Linked DNA regions of Homo sapiens: regions 1, 2, 3 and 5 are each linked to region 4. The links are contacts of gene promoters, found by promoter capture Hi-C in blood cells and fetal thymus (Javierre and others, 2016). All regions are on one chromosome and are shown on one strand. The core of a region is centred on a gene start or on the middle of the fragment in contact, and the rest is flanking DNA. Distances in the headings are between cores, read along the strand shown. Region 1 overlaps ZNF879 (zinc finger protein 879). Region 2 has its middle 8.2 kb from the start of ZNF354C. Region 3 overlaps ZNF354C (zinc finger protein 354C). Region 4 holds the start of ZNF354B (zinc finger protein 354B). Region 5 overlaps ZNF354A (zinc finger protein 354A).

What was found. The method cuts DNA at HindIII sites, captures the fragments that hold promoters and counts their contacts. A CHiCAGO score of 5 or more calls a contact.
Region 1: a fragment that was not itself captured here is called in contact with the fragment with the promoter of ZNF354B in region 4 in 10 of 17 cell types (total CD4 T cells, naive CD4 T cells, non-activated CD4 T cells and 7 more); the score reaches 10.2 in total CD4 T cells.
Region 2: a fragment that was not itself captured here is called in contact with the fragment with the promoter of ZNF354B in region 4 in 1 of 17 cell types (non-activated CD4 T cells); the score reaches 5.4 in non-activated CD4 T cells.
Region 3: a contact is called between a fragment that was not itself captured here and the fragment with the promoter of ZNF354B in region 4, in 10 of 17 cell types (non-activated CD4 T cells, M1 macrophages, erythroblasts and 7 more). The highest score is 9.0, in non-activated CD4 T cells.
Region 5: a contact is called between a fragment that was not itself captured here and the fragment with the promoter of ZNF354B in region 4, in 4 of 17 cell types (non-activated CD4 T cells, naive CD4 T cells, monocytes and 1 more). The highest score is 5.5, in non-activated CD4 T cells.

The regions. Positions count from the first base shown.
Region 1 is chr5:179,030,093-179,032,792 of GRCh38, forward strand. ZNF879 (zinc finger protein 879) reads left to right here. Exons shown (of 5, transcript NM_001136116.3): 5 at 2,113-2,700. Among named protein-coding and RNA genes, the nearest start is that of ZNF879, 7.6 kb to the left of the region's middle. The HindIII fragment of the contact is 1,654 bases long and covers 467-2,120 here.
Region 2 is chr5:179,050,777-179,053,476 of GRCh38, forward strand. No RefSeq gene overlaps it. Among named protein-coding and RNA genes, the nearest start is that of ZNF354C, 8.2 kb to the right of the region's middle. The HindIII fragment of the contact is 537 bases long and covers 1,007-1,543 here.
Region 3 is chr5:179,078,260-179,081,000 of GRCh38, forward strand. It overlaps ZNF354C (zinc finger protein 354C), which reads left to right. Exons shown (of 5, transcript NM_014594.3): 5 at 424-2,741. The coding sequence ends at 1,838. Among named protein-coding and RNA genes, the nearest start is that of ZNF354C, 19 kb to the left of the region's middle. The HindIII fragment of the contact is 1,486 bases long and covers 675-2,160 here.
Region 4 is chr5:178,858,552-178,861,251 of GRCh38, forward strand. ZNF354B (zinc finger protein 354B) reads left to right here and starts at 1,402. Exons shown (of 5, transcript NM_058230.3): 1 at 1,402-1,576; 2 at 2,446-2,529. The coding sequence starts at 2,497. RefSeq lists enhancers at 1,252-1,984, 1,269-1,468 and silencers at 1,609-1,808, 1,889-1,968. The HindIII fragment of the contact is 7,869 bases long and covers 1-2,700 here.
Region 5 is chr5:178,718,118-178,720,817 of GRCh38, forward strand. The region is part of intron 4 of ZNF354A (zinc finger protein 354A); the gene reads right to left. Among named protein-coding and RNA genes, the nearest start is that of ZNF354A, 11 kb to the right of the region's middle. The HindIII fragment of the contact is 1,263 bases long and covers 772-2,034 here.

The sequences.
Region 1 (2,700 bases), core at 44-2,543, 170 kb after region 4:
GGGATTTTTTGAAGCACTATTCAACTTCATTAAATTAAAATCAATGAAATTCCAACGAAGCACAAGTTACCATTTTTCCCTTATTACCAAGGATTAAGAAATAGATACCCAATGTGTTGCCACTGCTGTGAGTGATAAGCAGTATCGTTAGTGGGACTGCAACTGGTAGTCTTTCTGAGGATGGTCTGGTTTTATTAAAATCAATTCCAAGTGTAGAAATGTTAAGATAATTTCTGCACAGATAACTGTGCAGAGTTACAAAGATGTTGTAAAAGAATGTTTGTTATAACATGAGGCATCACTGCCACAAAAGGAGGAGGGTAAATGACTCTCAAAAAGGGATTTAGTAAATGATGATGTTTTCATGCATTGGACATATTATATTGCCATTAAAATGATGATGTCAGCCTACATTTATTGACATGGAGAGAAGCTCATGATTTTTAAGTGAAATGGAGGTAAAGGAAGCTTAATTTCAATCCATTTTAATTTTTTAATTAAGTGATTTTTTATATGCAGAAAATTCTGGTGAGCTATGTCCCACATATGATAGTGATTACAATTGCATGATGTATTTATGGGTGAGCTATGTGTTCATTTTTATAGTTTTCTGTGTTTTTCTTATGATGATATATTTCTTTTGTAGTTAAGAAAATAAAAGCTGTTTCATAAAATACAAAAGGAAATACATTTCTTTTGAATCAATGATTCCATTTCTTGTACTGTATCTTAAGTAACCAAAAAGGTAGACAAAAAATTACTCTCAATAATGTTCTTTTCTCCCAGTATTCCCCAATATCATGATAATGGTGTTGGTGTCCATTGAGTTGCCCAGACCAAAAGCTAGGAGTCATCCTTGAGTCCCCTCTTTCATTGCCTCTGCGCTCTATTCGTAGGTGAAGATACCTGCCAGTGCTACTTGCAGAACATCCCAGATACGCCCACCTCTTTCCGTCTCTTATCACCACATGCCAGTGTCAGCCACCACCATCTTCATCCAGGAAGAGTGCAGCGGCCTCATTGCCTGTTCTGCAGCTGCCCTTGTTCTCTTTCTCCCCGGCCCCATTACAGTTTGTTTTTCATATAGCAACCAGAGTGATCCTTTTTAAACAAAAACCACATCATTTCATGTCCCTTCTAGCCCTCAGTGATGCTGATGAACTTCCAATATCTTCCTGTATCCTAGAAAACGCTCCACAATATAGCCTGGCCCACCTCTTTTCCTCATCTGTGACACTCTCTTCTTGTTCACTCTGCTTCAGCTATCATGGACTGCTATATGTCCTGGAAAACAGGAAGCTATTCCTGCCTAGGGCCTTTGTGTTACTGTTCTTTCTGACTGGAATCACCTTTATACCCTAATTTTTGTCTGGCCAGCGCTTGTTATTTAGATCTCATCTTTAATTTCATTTTCTCATCACCCAGTTTAAAATAGTTGCCTATTCACTCTTATTACACAGTGCTTCGTTCGTGTTTTCTTACAGTTCTCATTGCTCCTTTGTACTGCTGTTGATTTGTTACTTGGTCATTGTCTGTATCACACTGCTGGAATGAAAACCTTGAGAGTAGGCCCTTGTCTGGCTTGTGCCCTGTCATTCTCAGAGTCTTAACGTTTGCGTAGCACACAGTAGGCACTCAGTAGGTATTACTTGAGTAAGTGGATGCCATTATTTACAGCATTCTGAGGAGGCCTAGAGCAGCACTGCTTGACATCCTGTGTTTGGCGGAGCTCTTCTCTTTCATTTAATTTTAGCCCCTCTGCAGTTTTTCCCTTGGTATTTACCTGAGTGCACTGGTAGCTGCCCTGGGAGATGACGCTGAGGGACACAGGCTGTGTTCAGAAGGGCCTCATAGCCTAGCGAGCTGTGCTTTGTTAATAGATCGAGCCTGGCTCTTCCTGTTGTCCCCTAATTTCCTCAGCCCACCTATATGTAGGTTTCTTCAGACCCTTCCCACCCACATGTCTGTCATCCTGCTTCCTTCCTCCTCTTCTTTTTCCCATCCTTTTCTAAGATTTCAAGGCTTTATATTTTTTAACTATCCTTGTGCGTTTTTATGTCACTTTTTAAAATTCTGAGTTCAAGAGAGACTTATATGTTTTGTCTACTTTAGGATGGGAAAGCTTGTTTGGAACCATAGTTTCTAAAGAAGAAAATCAGGAAGTCATGAAAAAACTCATAATTGATGGCACATTTGACTTCAAGTTGGAGAAGACCTACATAAATGAAGATAAGTTAGAGAAGCAACAAGGCAAAAAGAACAGACTTTTCAGTAAAGTGTTAGTTACCATCAAAAAAGTCTACATGAAGGAGAGGAGCTTTAAAGGTGTTGAATTTGGGAAAAATCTTGGTCTAAAATCATCGCTTATTAGAAAACCGAGAATAGTTTCCAGAGGAAGGAGACCCCGTTCACAGCAGTATTCAGTTCTCTTTAAACAACTGGGGGTCAACACAGTGCGTAAATGTTATAAATGTAATATCTGTGGGAAAATCTTCCTCCACAGTTCCTCCCTGAGTAAACACCAGAGAATCCACACTGGAGAGAAGCTCTATAAATGTAAGGAATGTAGGAAAGCCTTCAGCCAAAGCTCATCCCTAACTCAGCACTTGAGGGTTCATACAGGAGAGAAACCTTATATATGTAGTGAATGTGGAAAAGCCTTCAGTTTCACCACATCTCTTATTGGACACCAGAGAATGC
Region 2 (2,700 bases), core at 25-2,524, 190 kb after region 4:
CCACTTCCTGGATTACATACTTTGTACTGAGTGTTATTATATAAACATGTTCCTTATGGAGTTCCTGGGCACTCATAATAACTATGGAACAAAAAGATTGTTTTAACCTGTTGTCCTACCTCAGTGACCTGATGTAGCCACTGAAAGCAGTCTTCCATGTGAAAAGAAGCAGTGGAAGCTTTTACCCCACAAGTCCATGTCATAAGGAAAATAAGTCCCATGACGATTTTCCTCATGCTTCGGCCGTGCGCGGACCCGTCAGCTTCCGGGTGTGACTGGAGCAGGGCTTGTCGTCCTCCTCAGGGTCACTTTACAGGGATTGTCCAGGCTTGGTTTGGCCCTCCAGGTTTCAGGGGCTGCGGGATTTTTTTACGTGGCTGTGGTGAACCCAGGCCGGGATTCTGTCCACCTTTACAGCTGTGGGAGTGGTCAGGATAACGATCTGCGTTCCTTTCCACCGTGGCCGTGAAGGAGCTACGTTCCAGTCCTTGATCCACACATGGTCACCTGGAGAAAAAGGGTGAACTGGGGAGAGTAAGCTGACCGGGCACCTCTCATTTACCCAAGTTGAGATTGTCTGGGTAATCTTCCCTAGGGCCTGTAGCTATCGCTGCAGTTCAGTTTCACCCAACTCTTGGGGAGTACCCGGAAGTCCTCGCAGTATAGGAGGAGGCCTATGATATAATATTTCATAAAGGGAGTATCCTGTTTTCTTAGAGGGGGTGCACCTAATTTTAAACAATACCATAGGAAGGGCCTATATCCATTTTAATCCTGTCTCTTGACATACTTTCCCTAAACTATTTTTGATAGTCCAATTCATTCCCTCCACCTTTCGGGAACTCTGAGGTTGGTAGGTGGCATGTAGCTTCCAAGTGATTCCTAATACCTTTGCCGTCCTCTGTACTAAGTCAGCCACAGATGCCGGCCCATTATCTGAGCCGATTCGTAGAGGCAGTCCAAACCTAGGGATGAGATCTCGAAGAAGCACACGGGTTACTTCACAAGCTTTTTCAGTTCGTGTTGGATAAGACTCTATCCACCCAGAGTAAGTACACACTAGAACAGTAAATACTTGTTACCTCCGCATTTGGGCATCTCTGTGAAGTCCACTTGAAGATCTTCAAAGGGAGCTGCTCCACAGGCTTGTGTGCCGGGAGGAACAGGGGACCTTGCTTTGCATTGTGCATCGCCGCGCTACTGTTTTAGCAAGAGCTGGCAAGTGTGAGATGTAGAAATACCGGCTTAACAGCTTTTCAAGTGACTCCTGGCCTAAATGGGTAGTTTCATGTACAGCCAGCACAACTGCGGCTCCTAGCAGCTGTGGCACAGCTATTCTCCCATCTGGTGACTTTATCCATTCTTCTTTTATTGTTTGTCCTCCCTTTGCCTGAAGAACGTCTTTTCCCTTTTTAGAATAAGTAGGCACCAGATCAGGTGTTTGAGGGAGTAGAGGGGCTGTGACTGATGCCTGGTAAAGAGTAGATGCTGCTTTTTGTGCCTCTGTGTCTGTTCGGGAGTTTCCTTGGCTTACTGAGGTGGAAGCTTGCAGGTGTCCCCTGCAATGCATGACTGCTACCTTTTGGGGTTTCCATACTGCCTCTAATAATTGCAGAATTTCTTGTTGATATTTTATGTCCTTTCCCCCGGAATTTAACAGGGCTTTTTCTTTATATAATGCTCCGTGCACTTGGAGGGTTAGAAAGGCATATCGAGAGTCAGGATAAATGTTCACAGTCTTACCTTCACGGAGTTCTAGAGCCCGGGTTAAAGCAATGAGCTCTGCCTTCTGGGCTGAAGTGCCGTGAGGCAACGGTTTGTCTTCAATAACATCATCCAAGGTCACCACCGCACATCCTGCGCATCTTTCTCCTTGCGGATTGATGAAGCTGCTCCCGTCCACGTATAACTCCCAGTCCACTGATGCCCATGGCTGGTCTCGAAGATCGGGCCTGCTAGAATAGACTGAGTCCAACACTTCCACACAGTCATGTTCGACAGGGCTGTCTGATGCTGGGAGTAAGGTGGCAGGATTCGGAGTGTTACAGACGTCAGTGGTTATGTGGGGGTTTTCACATAACAAGCTTTGGTACTTGGTTAATCTAGCATTTGTTAACCAATCATGTCCTTTGGTATTCATTAAAGTTACCACTGCATGGGGGGGGCCTTTATACTTAAGTTTTGCCCAAGGGTTAGCTTGTCTGCTTCTTGTGCTAACAGGGCTGTAGCTGCCAGGGCTCTCAGACATGGAGGCCAGCCTTTTGAAACTCCGTCTAGCTGTTTTGAGAGGTACGCCACTGGTCTTGGCCAGGGCCCCACAGTTTGGGTTAAAACTCTGACTGCCATTTTTTGTCTTTCTGACACATAGAGTGTAAAGGGCTTTGTCAAATCTGGTAGTCCTAAGGCTGGGGCTGACATAAGTTTTTCCTTTAACTTGCAAAAGGCTTGCTGTTGCAGAGGTCCCCATTCAGAAGGCTCCTGGTCGCCCCCCTTTGTAACCCCATACAATGGTTTGGCTAGCACCGCAAAGTTTGGAATCCATAATCTGCAAAATCCCACGGCTCCTAGAAATACCCTTACTTGCCTTCTGGTTTTAGCGGGAGACTTGCTTAGTAAGCTGAGAGCCACCATTTCCTTTACAAAACAGGGCTCTTTGCAGGCTGAAGTTACAGGCAACAGGAGTTATCATGGCCCTTACAG
Region 3 (2,741 bases), core at 168-2,667, 220 kb after region 4:
CATGTGAGTAAGAAGGAGAAGGTGGACAGGCTGCCTACTTCATTGCCTGGTATATGCATAGTGGAAAATGATGACAGAGTGGAGTATCCCATGGTATTCAGCGTGGGCTTATCATTTGGCATTTTTCTGTATCCTCATATCTTCTACTCAGCCTGTTCTTCTGCATCTAACTTTACTATATCCAGGTGGAATCGCTTCATTTTCATTGTTAATTTGTCCAGTGTATTCTCCCATGCCATTCCTTAACCTGTTTACCTCACTTTCCTTTATCCCATCCTGTTCTTCCCAAGATTCAAGTCAGCATTTGAAATCTGATTGTATCACTCTTCTTTCATATATACTGTTACCAGTTTTTTTGTCTCACCGATACATCAGTTTGTTTCTTCCAGCAGAGGAGGCATTAATTCTTCTGATTCATTTTAGGTTTCAAGACTTGGCTTGAAACAGAAGCATTGCCTCATAGACAGGACATTTTTATAGAAGAAACATCTCAGGGAATGGTAAAGAAAGAATCCATTAAGGATGGTCACTGGGACATTAACTTTGAAGAAGCTGTGGAATTTGAGAGCGAGATAGAAGAAGAGCAAGAGAAGAAACCTCTTAGACAAATGATAGATTCGCATGAGAAAACCATCAGTGAAGATGGAAACCATACAAGTCTTGAATTGGGGAAAAGCTTATTTACAAATACAGCTCTTGTCACACAACAGAGTGTTCCTATAGAAAGGATACCCAATATGTATTATACATTTGGGAAAGATTTTAAACAGAATTTTGATCTCATGAAATGCTTCCAGATTTACCCAGGAGGAAAACCTCACATCTGTAATGAATGTGGGAAGAGCTTCAAGCAGAATCTGCATCTTATTGAACATCAGAGAATTCATACAGGTGAGAAACCCTACAAATGTAATGAGTGTGAAAAAACCTTCAGCCACAGATCATCCCTTCTTTCTCATCAGAGAATTCATACTGGAGAGAAACCTTACAAGTGTAATGAATGTGAGAAGGCATTTAGCAACAGTTCAACCCTTATCAAACATCTGAGAGTGCATACTGGAGAGAAACCGTATCGATGTAGGGAATGTGGTAAAGCCTTTAGCCAGTGTTCAACCCTCACTGTACATCAGAGAATTCATACTGGAGAGAAACTCTATAAATGCGGCGAATGTGAGAAGGCCTTCAACTGTAGAGCAAAACTTCACAGGCATCAAAGAATCCATACAGGTGAGAAACCCTATAAATGTAGTGAGTGTGGGAAGGGATACAGCCAGTTTACATCTCTAGCTGAACATCAGAGGTTTCATACTGGAGAACAACTGTATACATGCTTGGAATGTGGGAGAACCTTCACACGTATTGTAACCCTTATCGAACATCAGCGAATTCACACTGGACAAAAACCTTATCAGTGCAACGAATGTGAGAAAGCCTTCAACCAGTATTCATCCTTTAATGAACATCGGAAAATTCATACTGGGGAAAAACTTTATACATGTGAGGAATGTGGGAAAGCCTTTGGTTGCAAATCTAACCTTTATAGGCATCAGAGAATTCATACTGGAGAGAAACCGTATCAGTGTAATCAGTGTGGAAAGGCCTTCAGCCAGTATTCATTTTTAACCGAACATGAGAGGATCCACACTGGAGAGAAACTGTATAAATGTATGGAATGTGGGAAAGCCTACAGTTACAGATCAAACCTTTGTAGACACAAAAAAGTTCACACGAAAGAGAAACTCTATAAGTGGAAGGAATATGGGAAACCTTTCATCTGCAGCTCCTCACTTACCCAGTATCAGAGATTTTTTAAAGGAGATAAAGCCTATGAGGTTTAGTTCATCTCTCAAATAATCCAAGACTTCTCACTGGGGAATAAGGGAATAATAAATAGGGTACAAACTCCTAATAGATTTGTCTTTTTTACTTCTCCTGAAGGAAATATGTTAGTTGCCACTAAGTCATGATAAAATTGATCAGTGAGACTATGAAGAGCACTGACTTGTTAAATTTTAAAAGAACCATAAATTCTAAGGTATCTAAAAACCTATGAGTATTTAATTCATAGAAAAAATGTAAAAGGTCTTTTTAAAAATCATGAAAAATAGTTGAATATACATTTTGTTTCTCTCATAAGACCATATTCCCTTTAAAAGAGTAAGCTTCAATATGTGAATTTTCTTTTAAAAACAGTCACTGAGTTAATAATGTAAATAAGTGTGTGGCCTTCTTTAAAATAGCTGGCTAACATAGGAGGCACTTCTTTTCATAAAGAGAAGCTAAACATAAAAAGGAATTTTAAATTTAACTCTTCACATGGAAATAATAAAGCTCTTTATATGAGCTGTCCCACCAGCAACTTATATATGTAAACATACATATATACACATATGCATGTGTGTGTGTAAACATAAAAGTCCTTTATTATTAAAAAATGTAGTTTTATTGATTTAGAATTTAGTTCTTAAAATCTTGCCCAAAGGTAGACTCTCTTTCTTTTACTTTCTTCCATTATTTCTTAAATTGATGTGGTTTTATATAACTGAACAGAGTACTATTACAGTACCGTAGAAGGCGGATTAACTGAAGCAGCTGGAAAGACTGTCAAGCACATACTTTGTTATCTGTTGCAGAAGGGATGTATTTGGCAGAATCTCAGGCTGCATGTCTGGTAGCTCATTAGAGCCAGGAGAGATTTTAGTTTAATTATAGCCTTTCATTGTACTAACGAAGGATTTGAA
Region 4 (2,700 bases), core at 152-2,651:
TTATTTTTTTAAGGCAGAATAATATTCCTTTGTGTATATAAACACATTGTGGCCGGGCTCGGTGGCTCACGCCTGTAATCCGAGCACTTTGGGAGGCCGAGGAGGGTGGATCACGAGGTCAGAAGTTCAAGACCAGCCTGGTGAAGATGGTGAAACCCCATCTCTATTAAAACTACAAAAATTAGCTGGGCGTGGTCGCGGGTGCCTGTAATCCCTGCTACTTGGGAGACTGAGGCAGAGAACTGCTTGAACCTGGAAGGCGGAGGTGGCAGTGAGCCAAGATTGCGCCATTGCACTCCAGCCTGGGTGACAGAGCAAGACACCGTCCCAAACAAACAAACAAACAAAACATTTCCTTTATCTATTCATCCATCAACAGATAGTTGTTTCCATATCTTGGCCATGGTGAATAATGTTGCAGCTAACATGGGAGTGCAGGTATCTCACGGAGTTTCACTTCCTCTGGATCTATAGCCAGAAATGGGATTGGTGGATCCTAATGTAGCTCTAGTTATAATTTTTTGAGGAACCTCTATACCGTTTTCTGTAATGATTGTACCAATTTACATCCTTTTGATAGTGGCCATCCTAATGGAGGTGCAGTGATTTCTCATTGAGTTTGGGTTTATATTTCTCTTATACCTAGAGATGTTTACCATCTTTTTATATGCTTGTTGCTCATTGCTCATTTGTATATCTTCATTGGAGAATTGCCTATTCAAGTCCTTTGTCCATTTTAAAATCAGGTTATTTGGTTTTGTTATTGTTGTTGAGTTGTAAAAGTTCCATATAAATCCAGGATACATTGCAAATCAGATATATGATATGTAAGCATTTTCGTCTATTCTGTAGATTGCCTTTGTTTCCTTTGATTAGCCAAAGTTTTTAAGTTTGATGTAGTCCCATTTGTCTATTTTTGCTGTTATCTGTGCTTCTGATGTCATATTCAAGAAATCATTGCCATCTCCAACATCCTGAAGTTTTTTCCCTTTTTACTTTAGTAATTTATAAAATAATTTGGTCTCACATTTAGGTTTTTAATCAATTTTGAGTTAATTTTTATGTATGGTGTACGGTCAGGGTACAGGCTCATCTTTTGCACGTGGAAATCCAGCTTTGTCAACATCTTTTGCAGGGGATTTTCCTTTCCCAATTGTGTAGTAGTTGTTTTCGTGCCGCCCACGCCATCCTGAAATTCACACACAGAGTTGCAAGTTACTGCCCTCCGGGAACCTCCCCTTCTCTTCCGAAGAACCAGGAACCCGGGGCTCTACAGCTCACCCGGGCCCTCTCATAGGTCTGGGCGCCTAACAGCTCAGCTGCGACCTCGCCTCAAACGCGTGGAACTACACTTCCCAGAAAGCCAGCGTCCTCCCGTGGACTCCATTTCCTAGAGGCCTTAGCGGCCGCCTTGCTCCTCTAGGTCCCAGGCGCTCTGCGGAGCTTTCGCTGCCCGGTGAGCGGCGCCGGGCTTGAGGTCGCCCAGACGTCGGAGGAGCCGGGTCACGAGGCTGGAGCTTCCTGCTTGCAGAGTGCGGCGGGGAGGCGCGGCCCGGGAACGCGGGATCCTGGGGAGGTGAGCGGCATGGCTGGCTGTGCCGGGAGGAGGCGGCGCCTGGCGCCAGGGCGACCTGAGGCCGCGGGGCTCCGAGGGCCTCTGTGGGCGCGGGGGGGCACCCCCGCGTCTGTCACCGGCCCCCGCGCCAGGACTTGGACTCTCGCCCCTCACGGGCCGCTCCGGTGCCGCTGCCGACGCCCCTGCCTCTGGCTCGCGCCGCCCGCCGTGAACGCGGGGCCAGGCGTTTCCTCCCGGGCCCACCCTGCGCGCGCCGTGTGGGCCTCGCGGACTCGGGGCGCCGGGACCCCGAGCGCAGGGCAGAGGCAGCCGGGCCCGGTTTCTGAGTCAGTCCCCAGGACGGCCACTCCTCCTGCCTCGGGACACCCAGCGCTTTCCTCTTCAAAGCCGTTTTCCGTGGAGTCGGGAGACGATTCGTTGGCGGGAGAGAGAGGAACCGGCTGGGAAAGGCTTGAGGCGGAGGGAAGTCGTCCCGGGGCCGTCGTGGTGGGAGTCCCGGCCCGCCTCGCAGCGGCGTGAACGGGGCAGGTGCCCCGGCGCTGCCTCAGTTTCCTGAGCGGTGCAGTGGGTGCTGGCAGTGCCAGCTGGCGCCGAGGAACTCAGCGGCGTGGGGCGAGCCCTGGCCCTGGTGGGCTCAGCGGGTCGCTGCTGCCACTGCGGGTCCAGCGTCCCCTCCGTAAGCCCCAAGCCTGTGGGGCCTGGGCCTGGCCGGGCGGCCCAGCGCTGCTCTGGTCCGCGGGCTCCTGGCTCCTCCCGAATCCCTGTGAGGGCGCGCGGGGTCCTTCTCAGCGGGAGTCGGGGTTTTAGAGCTGCGGATTCCAGGGCTGGAAAGCAGAAGGGGTTCTTCCTGGCTCCCTTTTTCTTCTCAGATCTGCCTTCTGGAGACTGCGCCGTCCTCCCGGGAGAGCCAGAAAGAGGACATGGCTGCTGGGCAGCGGGAAGCGAGGCCCCAGGTGAGCTCATTGCCCTCCCAGATCCCAGTGGATGGATTTTCCCCACTAACTGGAGTTCTTCACCCGGGACCATCTCCAGCCAGGATGGAGCCCAAGTCCTTTTCTCTTGGAGGAGCTGGTCCGCCCTCATGACTGGTGGATTCTGTAGGGAGGACCACCCACCCTCCCCAC
Region 5 (2,700 bases), core at 153-2,652, 140 kb before region 4:
CAACTCTAAAGTGCCAATATTTTAGTCCTGAAATCATGTTTTTCACAGAAGCAGACGTAAGTTTTGGATTGTGGATATCCTGACTCTTCCTTATGATCTGTTTAGAACTTTCTAGAGGCCTACAAATAGGTCTCCTGAGGTGCAGTTCAACCTTTGCTTCCTCCTAGAATCAAGCCCAGTCCTCAGCTACCTGTTAAACAAGGTGAAGACCTAGGTCAGAAGTTGAGAAGCCAGAATCATCTTGCTGATGGCCACTGCCCTGACCACTTCCTGTTATCAGGTCTAGACTCTTCCACCTGGACTCTCACTACACCCAGAGAGTGTTTCTTCAACCCTATCTCCCTGGATGATTTCATTTACTCCCACACCTCTTATGTGTACGACTATCCTGAAAAATACTTTACAGAGGTCTTTCCAACTGCCGGTTAGAATTTCCACTTGTGTATCTTTCTTTTTAAATTCAGCCTGTCCAAATCTGAACCCAGAGCATTCCTTTTCAAACCTTTTTTATATGTTTTCCAGTTCAAAATGACACCATCATCTCTTCAGTTAATTTACCGTAAATTCTTAGTTTTATCTTAGAATTTCTCTTCCCTAGGCAGTCATCAAAATCTTCATTTTTTTGTTTTTTGAGAGACAGGGTCTTGCTCTGTTGCCCAGGCTGAAATGCACTGGTGCCATCATAGCTCACTGCAGCCTCAAACTCCAGGGCTCAAGCGATTCTCCCACCTCAGCCTCCTGAGCAGCAGGAACTACGGGTGCACACTGCCAAGCTTGGCTAATATTTTTATCTTGCGTAGTGACAGGGTTTCATTGTGTTGCCCAGGCTGCACATTCTCTTAAATCTCATCACTAAAATGTCTCTAATAAGCCATCGTGAATATGTCTAAGTTCAGGATCTCCTCACTGTAGAGTGACTTGCTCCTGATCTTAAGTTATTCCTTTGACCTGTTTCTTGCCTTTCCAGTATTATTTCCCACTGGATTTACCCCTCTTAATACACAGAATTGGTCATGTTATTTCAAAAAGCATTGGTCACGCCTTACTTTATTAATTTATCAAATATTTAAAAAGTACCTACTATGTATTAGGCTCTATCCTAGGCATCGGTGATCCACAGTTCCCTACGGATCCAGTAATTAAAAGGAACAGTTGATTTCTTCAGAGAGTTTATAGTCAGACATTAGAAATGAAGACATCAGTAGGTAATCACAATACAATGTGACAATTTCTACAATAGAAACATAAGCTAGAAATGGACGTGAACACGAGCTTAGAATCATATCCAACTGTCCTTAGATAGTGAGGGTGCAGGTAGAAAAGGGGTGCAGCAGGACGCTGCTGGAGTGTTTCGTAAGAATTGACATATAAGATAGGATGTGAAAGGAATCGCCATAGGCTAGATGAAGGGGTAGCACAAGGGCTGAAGGCAGCACCCAAGTCTTTGAATGCAAGTCAGTTTTCCAGACTTATTTGCTGAAGTATCCACCCCCACCTTATCCTATAGCTAGTCAGAGTAAAAGCTCCACCTATAAAAATGTCACTTGCGGCCGGGCGCGGTGGCTCACGCCTGTAATCCCAGCACTTTGGGAGGCCGAGGCGGGCGGATCACGAGGTCAGGAGATCGAGACCATCCCGGCTAAAACGGTGAAACCCCGTCTCTACTAAAAATACAAAAAATTAGCCGGGCGTAGTGGCGGGCGCCTGTAGTCCCAGCTACTTGGGAGGCTGAGGCAGGAGAATGGCGTGAACCCGGGAGGCGGAGCTTGCAGTGAGCCGAGATCCCGCCACCGCACTCCAGCCTGGGCGACAGAGCGAGACTCCGTCTCAAAAAAAAAAAAAAATGTCACTTGCATTTGCAGTCTCACAAGGTTTTCTAGAGTCAGAGAACTCAAGGAGCAATCTGCTGGGAACTGCACATAAACCATGATGGGGGTAGTACTGCCTATTTGTAAACATCCTCTATCATCTTTGTGCTGGTGGAAAAGAGAAAAGCTGTTTTAGAAATGTTGTTGTGGTAACTCTTATTTTTAAAGCTTTTAACATAGAAATTTTCAGCATATGTAAAAGTAGTGTGAATTGTACAGTGAATCTCCAGCCAGTTTCAATAACCAGCAACACTATTCTATTGACAACCTTGTTATGGGCTGAACCGCATCATTCAAAAGAGAGACGTAGAAGTCCTAACTTCCAGGACCTCAGAACGTGACCTTACTTTAAAATATGGTCTTTGCACGTTCAATCAAATTAAGATGAAGTCATTGGGGTGAGCCCTAATCCAGCGTGACTGCTGTCCCCGTAAACTGGGGAAATTTGGACACAGGCATCCAGAAGGAAAGATGATGTGAAGACACCGGGCGAACACAGTGTGAAGACGGAGGCACAGATAGGACTGATGCAGCTGCAGGCCACGGAGATCTCCAAGTTGGCCATCGCTACAAGCTAGCAAAAGGCAAGGAAGAATTCTATGCAGAGTCTCAGAGGGAGCGGGGCCCTGCGAATATCTTGATTTTGACCTTCAGAACTGTGAGACAGTAAATCTCTACTGTTTTAAGCCACGAAGCTTGTGGTACTTCAGTATGGAGCCCTAGCAAACTAACACAAACCCTTTCATCTCGTCCACTAGGTTATGCTAGAGCACATCCCAGACAGCAAAATCATTTCATCTGTAAAAACATCAAAACCGCTCTTAGCACATCC